Linked DNA regions of Homo sapiens: all the other regions are linked to region 4. The links are contacts of gene promoters, found by promoter capture Hi-C in human tissues and cell types (Jung and others, 2019). All regions are on one chromosome and are shown on one strand. Each heading gives the region's core, a stretch centred on a gene start or on the middle of the fragment in contact. The rest is flanking DNA. Distances are from core to core; before and after follow the strand shown.

Evidence for each region. Contacts are between HindIII fragments. The study calls those that stand out against the background at their distance.
Region 1: a fragment that was not itself captured here is called in contact with the fragment with the promoter of NRROS in region 4 in 1 of the 25 tissues and cell types used here (aorta).
Region 2: a contact is called between a fragment that was not itself captured here and the fragment with the promoter of NRROS in region 4, in 3 of the 25 tissues and cell types used here (H1 embryonic stem cells, spleen and thymus).
Region 3: a contact is called between a fragment that was not itself captured here and the fragment with the promoter of NRROS in region 4, in 1 of the 25 tissues and cell types used here (spleen).

Annotation. Positions count from the first base shown.
Region 1 is chr3:196,434,937-196,437,763 of GRCh38, forward strand. No RefSeq gene overlaps it. Among named protein-coding and RNA genes, the nearest start is that of UBXN7, 3.9 kb to the left of the region's middle. The HindIII fragment of the contact is 4,935 bases long and covers 1-2,827 here.
Region 2 is chr3:196,821,460-196,824,201 of GRCh38, forward strand. The region is part of intron 13 of PAK2 (p21 (RAC1) activated kinase 2); the gene reads left to right. Among named protein-coding and RNA genes, the nearest start is that of SENP5, 45 kb to the right of the region's middle. The HindIII fragment of the contact is 5,691 bases long and covers 1-2,742 here.
Region 3 is chr3:196,888,030-196,890,837 of GRCh38, forward strand. The region is part of intron 2 of SENP5 (SUMO specific peptidase 5); the gene reads left to right. Among named protein-coding and RNA genes, the nearest start is that of SENP5, 22 kb to the left of the region's middle. The HindIII fragment of the contact is 3,556 bases long and covers 1-2,808 here.
Region 4 is chr3:196,638,413-196,641,277 of GRCh38, forward strand. NRROS (negative regulator of reactive oxygen species) reads left to right here and starts at 1,282. Exons shown (of 3, transcript NM_198565.3): 1 at 1,282-1,463. RefSeq lists silencers at 919-1,348, 1,369-1,468 and an enhancer at 1,919-2,038. The HindIII fragment of the contact is 16,873 bases long and covers 1-2,865 here.

The sequences.
Region 1 (2,827 bases), core at 109-2,608, 200 kb before region 4:
GAATATGAAGGACTGACCAGTTGCGGTGGCTCACACCTGTAATCCCAGCACTTTGGGAGGCCGAGGCTGGGGATCACCTGAGGTCAGGAGCTCCAAACCCGCCTGACCAACATGGTGAAACACCATCTTTACTAAAAATACAAAATTAGCTGGGCGTGATGGTGCGTGCCTGTAATCCCAGCTACTCGTGTGGCTGAAGCAGGAGAATCGCTTGAGCCCGGGAGGTGAAGTTTGCAGTGAGCCAAGAATGAGCTACTGCACTCCAGCCTGGGCAACAGAGTGAGACTCCGTCTCAAAAAAAAAAAAAAAAAAAAAAAAAAAGAATATGAATATGAAGGATGGGTGTCGTGGCTCATGCCTGTAATCCCAGCACTTTGGGAGGCCAAGACAGGAGGATCACTTGAGCCCAGGAGCTTGAGACCAGCCTAGGCAACATAGGGAGACCCTATCTCTGAAAAAAGAAAAAAAAAGTTTAATTAGCCAGGTGCGGTGGTGCAAGCTTGTAGTCCCACCTACTCTGGAGGCTGAGGCGGGAGGATCACTTGGGCCCAGGTGGTCGAGGCTGCAGTGAGCCATGATGACACCACTGCACTCCAGCCTGGGTAAGATATGTGGAAATCACAAGGAACAGTGGAGGATCTCATACTAGTAACAGTAGAACTGTCACAACCCATACGTCCAAAGAGATGAGAACAGAGAGAAGTTAGAGAAATCCCAAGTGAGATTTTTTTGCAGAGCAAACCACCATGCAAGAAGCAATGACCTTCTGTCAAGGGACATAAATAAGCAGCTTGAGGCAATCTCAGAGAGGAGCTCAGGGACATAGATACCCTGACCTCGATCTCCTCTTCTGTCTCCTGCCAGGAATCCCCAATGGCTGAACCCAAATGGAAGACAGAGGGCACAGCAAGAAGCCCCTTGTAGTTCCCACAGGCAGCCCCGGGGCAGAGAGCAGGATGGAAAAGAGGAAATTGATGGACACAAATGTAAAATGGAATGGTCATGGAAATACATTCCAAAACTTGAGGAGCTTTTTGGTTTGTTTGGGTCTTTTTTGTTTCATCTTGTTTTGTTTTTTGAGACAGGGTCTCTCTCTGTCGCCCAGGCTGGAGTGCAGTGGCAGGATCTTGGCTCACTGCAGCCTCTGCCTCCTGGGTTCAAGCGATTCTCCTGCCTCAGCCTCCCAAGTAGCTGGGATTACAGGAGCAGGCCACCATGCCCAGCTAATTTTTGTATTTTTAGTAGAGACAAGGTTTCACCATGTTGGTCAGGCTGGTCTTGAACTCCTGACATCAAGTGATCCACCTGTCTCAGCCTCCCAAAGTGCTGGGATTACAGGGTGAGCCACAGAGCCTGGCCCGAAACTGATGGAGTTTTAACAGAAGCTAAAGGAGAATATATAAGCTTAACTGGTTATATTAGAGAAGAAGACTGGAAAATAAGTAGCTCAGCATTTCATCAAGAAGTTAATAAAGGAACAACAACTCAGCAGACAAGGAAAAATGTGAAGAAAAAATGCTAAAGAGCAGAAATTGACAAAATAGAATACAAAATACAGAAGAGAGGATTCATAAAACCAAAAGCTGGTTCTCTGAAATAACAATATGTAAAACCTTTGACAGGCCAGGTGTGGTGGCTCACACCTGTAGGCCCAGCACTTTGGGAGGCCGAGGTGGGTGGATCACCTGAGGTCAGGAGTTCCAGACCAGCCTGGCCAACATGGTGAAACCCCGTCTCTACTAAAAATACAAAAATTAGCTGGACGTGGTGGCGGGCGCCTGTAATCCCAGCTACTTGGGAGGCTGAGACAGTAGAATCACTTGAACCCAGGAGACAGAGGTTGCAGTGAGCCGAGATTGTGCCATTGCACTCCCGCCTGGGTGACAGAGTGAGACTCCATCTCAAAAAATAAAAAAATAAATAATAATAAAACCTTTGACAGATTAAGAACAAAGAGAAAGACACAAACAATATTATGAAAAAAAGACATAGCAGACATAGCCGTGGCTTGAAAAATAAGAGAATATTATGAATAATTTTATGCTGATGAATTAGGAAATAGATAAATGACAGTTTCCTAGAAGAAATAATTAACAAAATGGAACTCAACTATGCATAGACTTATGACCATTAACAAAATGAAATCTGCCACACAAATGACCACACCCCAGTGATTTTACAGGAGATTGCTACCAAAAAAGTTAAGAAACAGATTATCCCAAACTTATACAAATGCTTCCAGATAAAGAACAATGGGAACAAACAGCTCATTCTATAAGGGTAGCATAACCTTGAAATCAAATCAAACAAAATAATAAATGAGAATTCATCCTCACTCATGGCTACTGAAACAGATATCTTAAATTAAATCAGAATTTAGAAATCCACATATTCACACATACATGTACATATTTTTTTTATTGGGTTTACTTCAGGAATGCAAGCATAATTTTACAGTAAAAAGCTCTTACAAATGGCACAGTTGCTCGCCCCTGTAATCCCAGCTACCTAGGAGGCTGAGGTAGGAGGACCACTGGAGCCCAATTGTCTAGGAGTTTGAAGCTGAATGAGCTATAATTGCACCCTGCACACTCCAGCCTGGACACCAGAAACTCCAGAAAAAAAAAAAAAAAACACCTCTGTCAATGTAATTCACCATAGTAAAACAAATTAAATAAGAGAAATTATTTGATTCATTTGATCAGACACAGGAAAACCATTGATATAAATGCACATCCATTCACAAAATGTTTTAAAAACCTTAACAAACTACATAAAGAAACTTCCTTAATCTAATAAAATGTATCTACCAAAAATGCAGAGTAAA
Region 2 (2,742 bases), core at 177-2,676, 180 kb after region 4:
GGGAGGCTGGGGTTGGAAGTTCAAGATCAGCCTGACCAACATGGAGAAACCCCATCTTTACTGAAAATACAAGATTAGCTGAGCATGGTGGTGGGTGCCTGTAATCCCAGCTACGTGGGAGGCTGAGGCAGGAGGATCACTTGAACCCAGGAGGCGGAGGTTGCAGTGAGCCGAGATCATGCCATCGCACTCCAGCCTGGTCGACAAAGCGAAACTCCGTCTCCATAAATAAATAAATAAATGTTGGTGAGAAGATAAGGAAACTAGAAATCTCGTTCATTGCAAAATATAAAATGGTACATCTGCTTTGGAAAACAACTTGACAATTCTGTGTGAAGTTAATACGGAATTACCAGATGACCTAGCGGTTCCTCTGCTGGGTACAGAGCCAAGAGAATTAAAATCATACATCCATACAGAAACCTTCATGCAGCCACAGAAGTGGAAATAATTCAAACCTGGTGAACAGTGGAATATTATTTGGTCATAGAAAGGAAGGAAGTGCCAATCCGTGTTACAGCATTGAACCTTGAGAGTACTGTGCTAAGTGAAAGAAGCCGAACAACAGATGGCAGCAGATTCTGACCGTCTGTTTCCTGAATGCTTTTCATCCAGTTGCCAAAGATTCCAGTTTATGTGGGCCGTTAAAGTACTTCTATAGAGGTGATTAGTTTAGACCACTTTTCAGAATGACATTAAAGCCCTCTAATGTTATTCATTCATTTAGCCAGTATTGGTTTGGGTACCTGCCATGCGCTGAGCACTATTCACAATGCTGTCTAAAAGAACCCACAAAAATTCCTGCTCTTACAGAACTTGTCTTCTAGTGGGAAAAGAGAAAAACAAAATAAATCAGAATAATGTGTCATACATTGAATAATGGACTCTTGAGTACTGAGACTGGCAGGAAGGAGGTTAGGGTGTTTACTTTCAAAAGGTGCTTAGAGAGCTGGGCACAGTGGCTCACGCCTGTCATCCCAGCATTTTGGGAGGCCAAGGTGGGAGGATTGCTTGAGCCTAGGAGTTCAAGGCCAGCCTAGGCAACATAGTGAGTCCCCATCTCTACAAAAAAATTTAAAAATTAGCCAAGCATGTTAGTGTGTGCCTGTAGTCACAGCTAATTGGAACCATCATCCTGCCCCAGTGCGTGGGTCACTTGGGCCCAAGGAAGATGAGGCTGCAGTGAGCTGTTATCACATCACTGCACTCCAGCTTGGGTGACGGCTAGGACCTGTCTCAAAAAAAATACAATAAAAATAAAATGTAAAATTAAATCAAAAGCGTGCATAGGGAGGGCTTCCCTGAGGTGACATTTGGACACAGGAAGTAAGAGCGTGATACTTACCTGAGGGAAAAGCATTCTAAGCAGAAGGCACAGCAAGTGCAAAAGCTCTAAAGCAGGAGCGTTCCTTGTGTATTGAGAGATGATTCTGGACCTCAGCACAGCTGGCGTACGCTGAGCAAACAGCGAGAGGTGCGGTCGATCGGCGAAGAAACCAGGCCAGACCGTAGTGCCTTATGAGAGCTCTGGAAGGATTCTGGCTTTTACTGGAGGCCAAATGGGGAAACTGTTAGAGAGATCTGAGCAGAGAAGCAAAGTGGTCTCCTTCAGTTTTAATAGGATTTCCCTGGCTGCGTTGTTGAGAGATCCCTGAGGAAGGCAAAGGCAGAGCAGAAGACCAGTCAAGAGGCTGATGTCATAATTCAGGCAAGCAGTGATGATGGCCTAGACCAGGGCAGTATCAGTGGAGGTGGGAAAAAGTGGTGTGAGTCTGGATGTATTTTGAAAGAAGAGTCTACATGAGAGAGAAAAGACTAACGGGATCTGTTCCCAAGTAACTCAACTGCATTCCTGTACAAAGCTGAAGAGTCTTACAGGGCTGCGTCTATAGCCAGGAGTACGCTCAGGCTTCAGAAGAGGCTCGCCTCCAGTGGCCTTCACTGTGGCAAAAAGGTCTACTTGAACCTCAGTGAGATCGGTAAAATCACCAGCGCCAAGCTCCTATCAGCAGATCCAGAAGCTGATCAAAGATGGGCTGATCATCTGCAAGCCTGTGACTATCCATTCCCAGGCTGGATCCCCGCAAACAAACAAACAAACAAACAAACAAAAAAAACACCTTGGGCCGGGCACGGTGGCTCATGCTTGTAATCTCAGCACTTTGGGAGGCCGAGGTGGGCAGATCACTTGAGGTCAGGAGTTCATGACCAGCCTAACATGATGAAACCTCGTCTCTACTAAAAATACAAAAATGAGCCAGGCATGGTGGCGTGCACCTGTATTCCCAGCTACTCGAGAGGCTGAGGTGGGAGAATTGCTTGAAACTGGGCGACAGGGAGAGATTCTGTCGCAAAAAAAAAAAAAAAGAAAAAAACACCTTGGCCCACAGGCATATGGGCATAACTGCTAATGCACACATTACCAAAAAGGCAGCCTGGATGAGGAAGATGAGAATTCCACCCCAGCTGCTCAGAAGACACTATGAATCTACCGAGATTGACCTTCACGTGTATCAGAGCCTGTACATGAAGTGAAGGGGGACGTGTTCAGAAACAAGCAGGTTCTTCGGAACTCATTCCAAGCTGAAGATAGACAAGGCCTCAAGAAGCTTCTCATTGACCAGGCCAGGGCACATGGCTCTAAGACCAGGAAAGCACTGTAGTTCCACGGAGAGTGCCTCTGGGCCAAGAGAAAATCATTAAGACTGTCCCAGGAGGAAGAAACTAAGAAATAAAGGTCTC
Region 3 (2,808 bases), core at 69-2,568, 250 kb after region 4:
CCTAAAGTGCTAGGATTACAGGCATGAGCCACTGCGCCTGGCCTAAAGCTTACCTATATTTGACTTTGAGGCTTCTAGTTTTTACGTCATGCTTTAAGAAGCCTTCTCTTGTCAAAAATCTATCCCATAAGGTAAACTGGTGTAAACATTTCTTTGGAAGACAATATGATAGTATAAATTATGGCCCATTCAGGCAATAGTTTGCTAGCAGCTGTTTAAGAATATAGATCTATATTTTGATACTGAAAGATGTCTATATAAAGTGAAAACAGGCCAGGTGCTGTGGCTCACGCCTGTAATCCCAACACTTTGGGAGGCCGAGGTGGGCGGATCACCTGAGGTCAGGAGTTCAAGACGAGGCTGATCAACATGGTGAAACCCCATCTCTACTAAAAATACAAAAATCAGCCAGGTGTTGTGGTGCGTGTCTGTGATCCCAGCTACTTAGGAGGCTGAGGCAGGGAGAATCGCTTGAACCTGGGAGGCGGAGGTTGCAGTGAGCTTAGGTTATGCCACCGTGCTCCAGCCTGGGCGACAGAGCGAGACTCTCTCACAAAAAAAAAAGAAAGAAAAAAAGTGAAAACAGTAAGTTGCAAAATGGTATGAAACCATTTTGTTAAAAGATATATATGACATATGTAGGATGAGTGTGAGTATATATGTGTGCATATGCATTTGTATAGGACATCTGGACAGATATTATTACCATTGGCTTTGGGGAGCTAGTTAGGAGGTTTATTTCTTGGTAGTTGAAACAGTTCTGAGCACTTTCTCTTTCCAACCATTAAGTATAATAAATTCTTCTGGCTGGGCACGGTGGCTCATGCCTGTTATCCCAGCACTTTGGGAGGCCGAGGCGGGCGGATCATGAGGTCAGGAGATCGAGACCATCCTGGCTAACATGGTGAAACCCCGTCCCTACTAAAAATTTAAAAAATTAGCCGGGCGTGGTGGCAGGCGCCTGTAGTCCCCACTACTTGGGAGGCCAAGACAGGAGAATGGTGTGAACGGGGGAGGCGGAGCTTGCATTGAGCTGAGATCGTGCCACTGCACTCCAGCCTGGGCGACAGAGCAAGACTCTGTCTCAAAAAAAATAAAAATAAATAAATTAGTAAATAAATTCTTCCTCATAGAAAGACACAAAGTACAGAGTCCTAGCAAATTAAAAAAAAAAACAACACCAAAAAACCTCTTGTCTATACTGTCCTAGAGTAAAGCCAGATTTCCCTACTGAGGTTAGCAGACCCATGATACTTACACCTGAAAAGAATTAGCATTTACCCACAAATGCCAGTTAACCTTTATAGATGTAACACTTTCAAGTACGGTTGATAAATTGAATATGCACGTAGTAAAACCTGTAGCATGACCTGAGGAAGTAGGAATTCTTACAGAATTCATGTGTAGTGACAATATAATTCACTATTTTAATAGGCCAAAGGGGAAAAAAATGGTATCTCAGCAAGTGCTGAAAAACCTGTTAGTAAAATTGTTTCCTTTTGGGTTTAAATCTCTTAGAAAACTAGTAATAAAGGAAGCTTCCTTGAATTACTAAAGAATATCAATCAGAAGCCAATAGCAGTTTCAGGTTTAAGAGAATGAAGTAAGCTCATGGACTCTCTTCTTCCTCCTACCAAATCCATAGAAATTATGAAAAAATATTAAAAACACATGTGTCTTCATACTCACAAATGAGGAGACAGTTTTGGTAGATCAGAAACTGAGAATCAGCTCCCACTGGGCAAAAAGTAGAGGGAAGGTCCAGGCGGGCAGAAGGAAGATTAGTACAGGGAAGTGGTGTGATACTGAGTGCTCATATTTCTGGAGATGGTGGAAGTGGAGAGGAAAGGGGACACCCATGGTAAGGACTGAGTAGTTGGGGAATCTCTCCCTGCCTGTGCCACATGTCAGCAAAGAACAAATCTGTTATCAAGCCAAAATTCTAAGGACAAGAGACAGGATACTCACCCACACACGTACACCTTGTAACACTTGGCAAGAGTGAGGAACATCCATTTTCAGAACAGCTGCTGGGGTTCTTAGTGTCCTTATTCCCACTGAAAATAGTTCAAGGCAGAGCAGCAGCTACTGCCCATTATAGCCCTTTGCCCTCAATTCTCAGCAAGTTACCTAAGTAGAGATGAACTAACAGTCTATCACCATCCTCTGAGAAAAGCCAACACAATGAAATAGACAAATTCAGCAAATAACAGAACTAAACCTCAGTATTGATTAATGGGGCAATGAGTACAATAGATAATCCTTTAAGGGACTTCTACAACATTAGCCACTATTGAGTTCTGTGGGGTGCTGAATGCTGGCTTGTCTCTAATATGACTGCACATTATGCTCCTTTCAGTTGATTTACATGTTTAAGAGTCAGTTATACTTAGGGGAGATTTACTTGTTGCAGTTTCATAATTTTATTCAGTATTACATAAAATGATGAAATATGAGTGTAAGAAGAAAGCTCCTCCTTTGAAAAACAAGGTGAATACTTTGCAATGACAGTAGCGGGTTGCTGCAAAAAAATGAATGCTGATGCGCTCATGCAGGACAGCTGCAAAAGATTTGAGGGCGTGCGTGAAAGTCTAGGACTCTGCACTGAGATTACTTTGCAAGTTCTTTAAGTTCTTGCTTCGCTTTAAAGTTCTAACCTCTATGTCATGAGTATGCCAGGAGATAATGGAAGGGAAACTGAAGAAATTAGGAATGTTTTCTAGAACTGAAAAGAAAGGTCTGAGTCTAAAGTTGAAAGGCTTTGCAAGTGCCAATCAGGATTAAAACACACAAATACATACACAAACT
Region 4 (2,865 bases), core at 32-2,531:
TATTTAGCTTTTTCATTGGTGTGATTGTTATTACCATTATGAGATAATATTTTATTTTTAAAATTATTTTTATTTTTTTAAAGACGGAGTCACACTCTATCACACAGGCTGAAGTGCAATGGCGTGATCTTGGCTCACTGCAGCCTCAACCTCCCTGTGCTCAGGTGATCCTCCCACCTCAGCCTCCCAAATAGCTGGGACTACAGGTGCGTGCCACCAGGTCTGGCTAAGTTTTAAATTTTTTGTACATATGGAGTCTCAGTATGTTGCCCAGGCTGGTCTTGCACTCAGGCGGTCCACCTGCCTTGGTCTGCCAAAATGCTAGGATTACAAGCCTGAGCCTCTGTGCCCGGCCATGAGTGAATATTGTAGAAAGCAGAGACAATGTGCCAGATGTTTGGAGTGAAAAGGACTTGGCTCCTGTTCTCTTAGGATGGACAATGCTACACACAATCCCAAATCACAGGCTATAAGAGAGGTGACCCAATCCTGCAGGACAGTTCAACGTTTCAGATTTGAAGGGGAGTGAGAGAGATCAGAACTGGAGGCCCCTTGTCTGAGCCCCCGACTATGGTGGTCCACGTCACTCCACACGCAGCAGGCACTGTAAATATTTCACCTTCTCTAGACGACAGTAGTTCCTCGAGAACAGGAGCGCTGGGGTAATGCATATGAAGCTCTTAGCACAGTGTCTGGCGCTGCTTCAATGATGGCTATATGATCAATTATTCTTACTCCTTTGAATTCTTGGCAAGAGCTGGCAGGGAACTTTGTACACATCAGGTACAAAAAAACCCATCCGCGCAGTCTAAGATCAAGAAGCTCTTGGCACTCTCTGACAGTCCTCGACAAAGCAATTCCCCTTCTTTCTAACACAGGGTCCGTAAAGGAGATGATCCACAAGGACCGGCTGAGTGGATAAGAAGACAGACTGGCTGAGCGGCTGACCCTGCCAGACGACAGGCTGTGCCTCTTTACCACGGTGCTGCCGTTCCCAAAGTCGGCCTCAGCTTGGTCCTTGGCTGGAAGCTCGTAGCAAAGTTTCTGGGTCAGCAGACCTCATAGGCAAGGGGCCCCTAGCTGGCCGCCCCCAGCCCTGCCAAGGCACCAACGCAAGAAAGCCGGGGGAGCCTCGGTCGCATTGCTGGAAGATCGTCTAAACATCCCCGCTGCTCGGCCGCTAGGCCGGCAGGTGTTCGGGCCCCGCTCCCCCGGCCCGCCCCACCCCCGCGCCCGCGCCGCGCTTCCCTCTAAGAGGCCGGGTCTGAGTGAGCCTGTGCTGAGTCGCCGAGCAGCCCGCTCTCCATGTGACTTCAGTTTCCGTCCGTTCCTTCCGCTGGTGCTAAAATAATCTGATGCCCCACAGCAAGGAGGTAGCCCAGCCCCGCGTTCGGCTGCTCTCGAGGAGGCCGGAGCCCCCGGAGACGATGCGCCCCGCGCAGCCGCCTGCGCCTGCGGGAGCCGTGAGTATTTCCCGCGTGGGGGCGTCCCCGGGGCACAGCCGGGGCCCTTCTCCAGGTGGGCGAGCTCGAGCGAGGTTGGGTGGTAGGAGGTCAGCGTCCGCGGCCCGCAGCTCAGGGCTCACGAGGAAGCTGTGGCTTGCTGCGTCCAAGCGCCGCCGCTTTTGTGCTGGGCGTGGGGGCTGCAGCTCTGGGTGGAGGTGGAAATACCTCCCTCCAGGAGCACTTAGAGCTGAGAAAGGTGGTGCGACGTAGTGGAAACCACGAGGGCTTCAGATTCAGACGTGGGTTTGAGTCCTGGCTCTGCAGGGAGCATGTGAGCAGACAGTTAAGGTTTCTGAGCCTCAGTTTTCTCATCTGCAAAATGGGAACAGAGATGCTCCCTCCCTGGGCTGGGCGACTGGATATGATGAGACCGCTCTGTGCACACTCAGCATGCTGAGCACTGGGCTCTCCTTTCCTGTCCCACAACGTGGATTGAGAACCACTATCTCATAGATGAAGACACTAAGACTGGTTAACAGCAACACCTATCACAGATGCCGTCCACGTGCCAGGCCTGTCCAAGGCCCTGGGGATACAGCTGTGAAAATGTGCAAAGCCCCTTCTCCCACAGAACGTTTGTCCTTGGGAGATTCACTGGGGCTCTGTGACTTGGATCTTAGCCTAGACTTAGATCCATGGCTTATCAGAGGGAGACTAACAGGAGGGCGACGAAGACTCGGACGCTCTTCCGTAGCCCTCGTGGCCCCTGCATGTGGGCCGGCTTCTGAAGGGGTCAGCGTACTTCCCCACGTACCCAGGAGCTAGACGGAAAGAAGTAAGGAGCCACTGGTGTGGCTTTGTGCTGCCTCTGAGAGAAGGTGGACACGTGCCAGTTGGTGGCTGCGACTGGAGGAGGCCGGATCGGGGGTCCTAGGAATGGAGCCTCTCCGGACAGGGCTGGTCGGGGCTGCTGTGCTTCCCTAGGGGCTGAGGGGACCCCACCGGAGGCTTCTTCATGATGGGCACAGCCCGTTAGGAGTCTGGGTGCTAGAAACATTCAGCGTCTGTGGCCCTCCATGCTTTCCTGTGTGCTCCTCACCTGCCGGCTGTGACACACAGACTGTTCTGTGGATGCTGAGGGTTTGCTGGGCTTTACATTTACAATACGTATTTATTCTCCTCACACACCTCTTAGGTTTGTGTGTGTGTGCCCGAGAGTCCCTAAAGGAGATTATAGAATCATGGGCCCAGGAAAAAACCTTAACTCCTGCCTTTAGGTTAAAAAAACAAAACAAAACAAAACAAAACAAAACAAACTCAGCTTCACAAAGAAGGCACTTTTTAAAAATATATATATTTATTTATTTATTTTTAGAGACAGGCTCTTGCTCTGTTGCCCAGACTGGAGTTCTGTGGCACG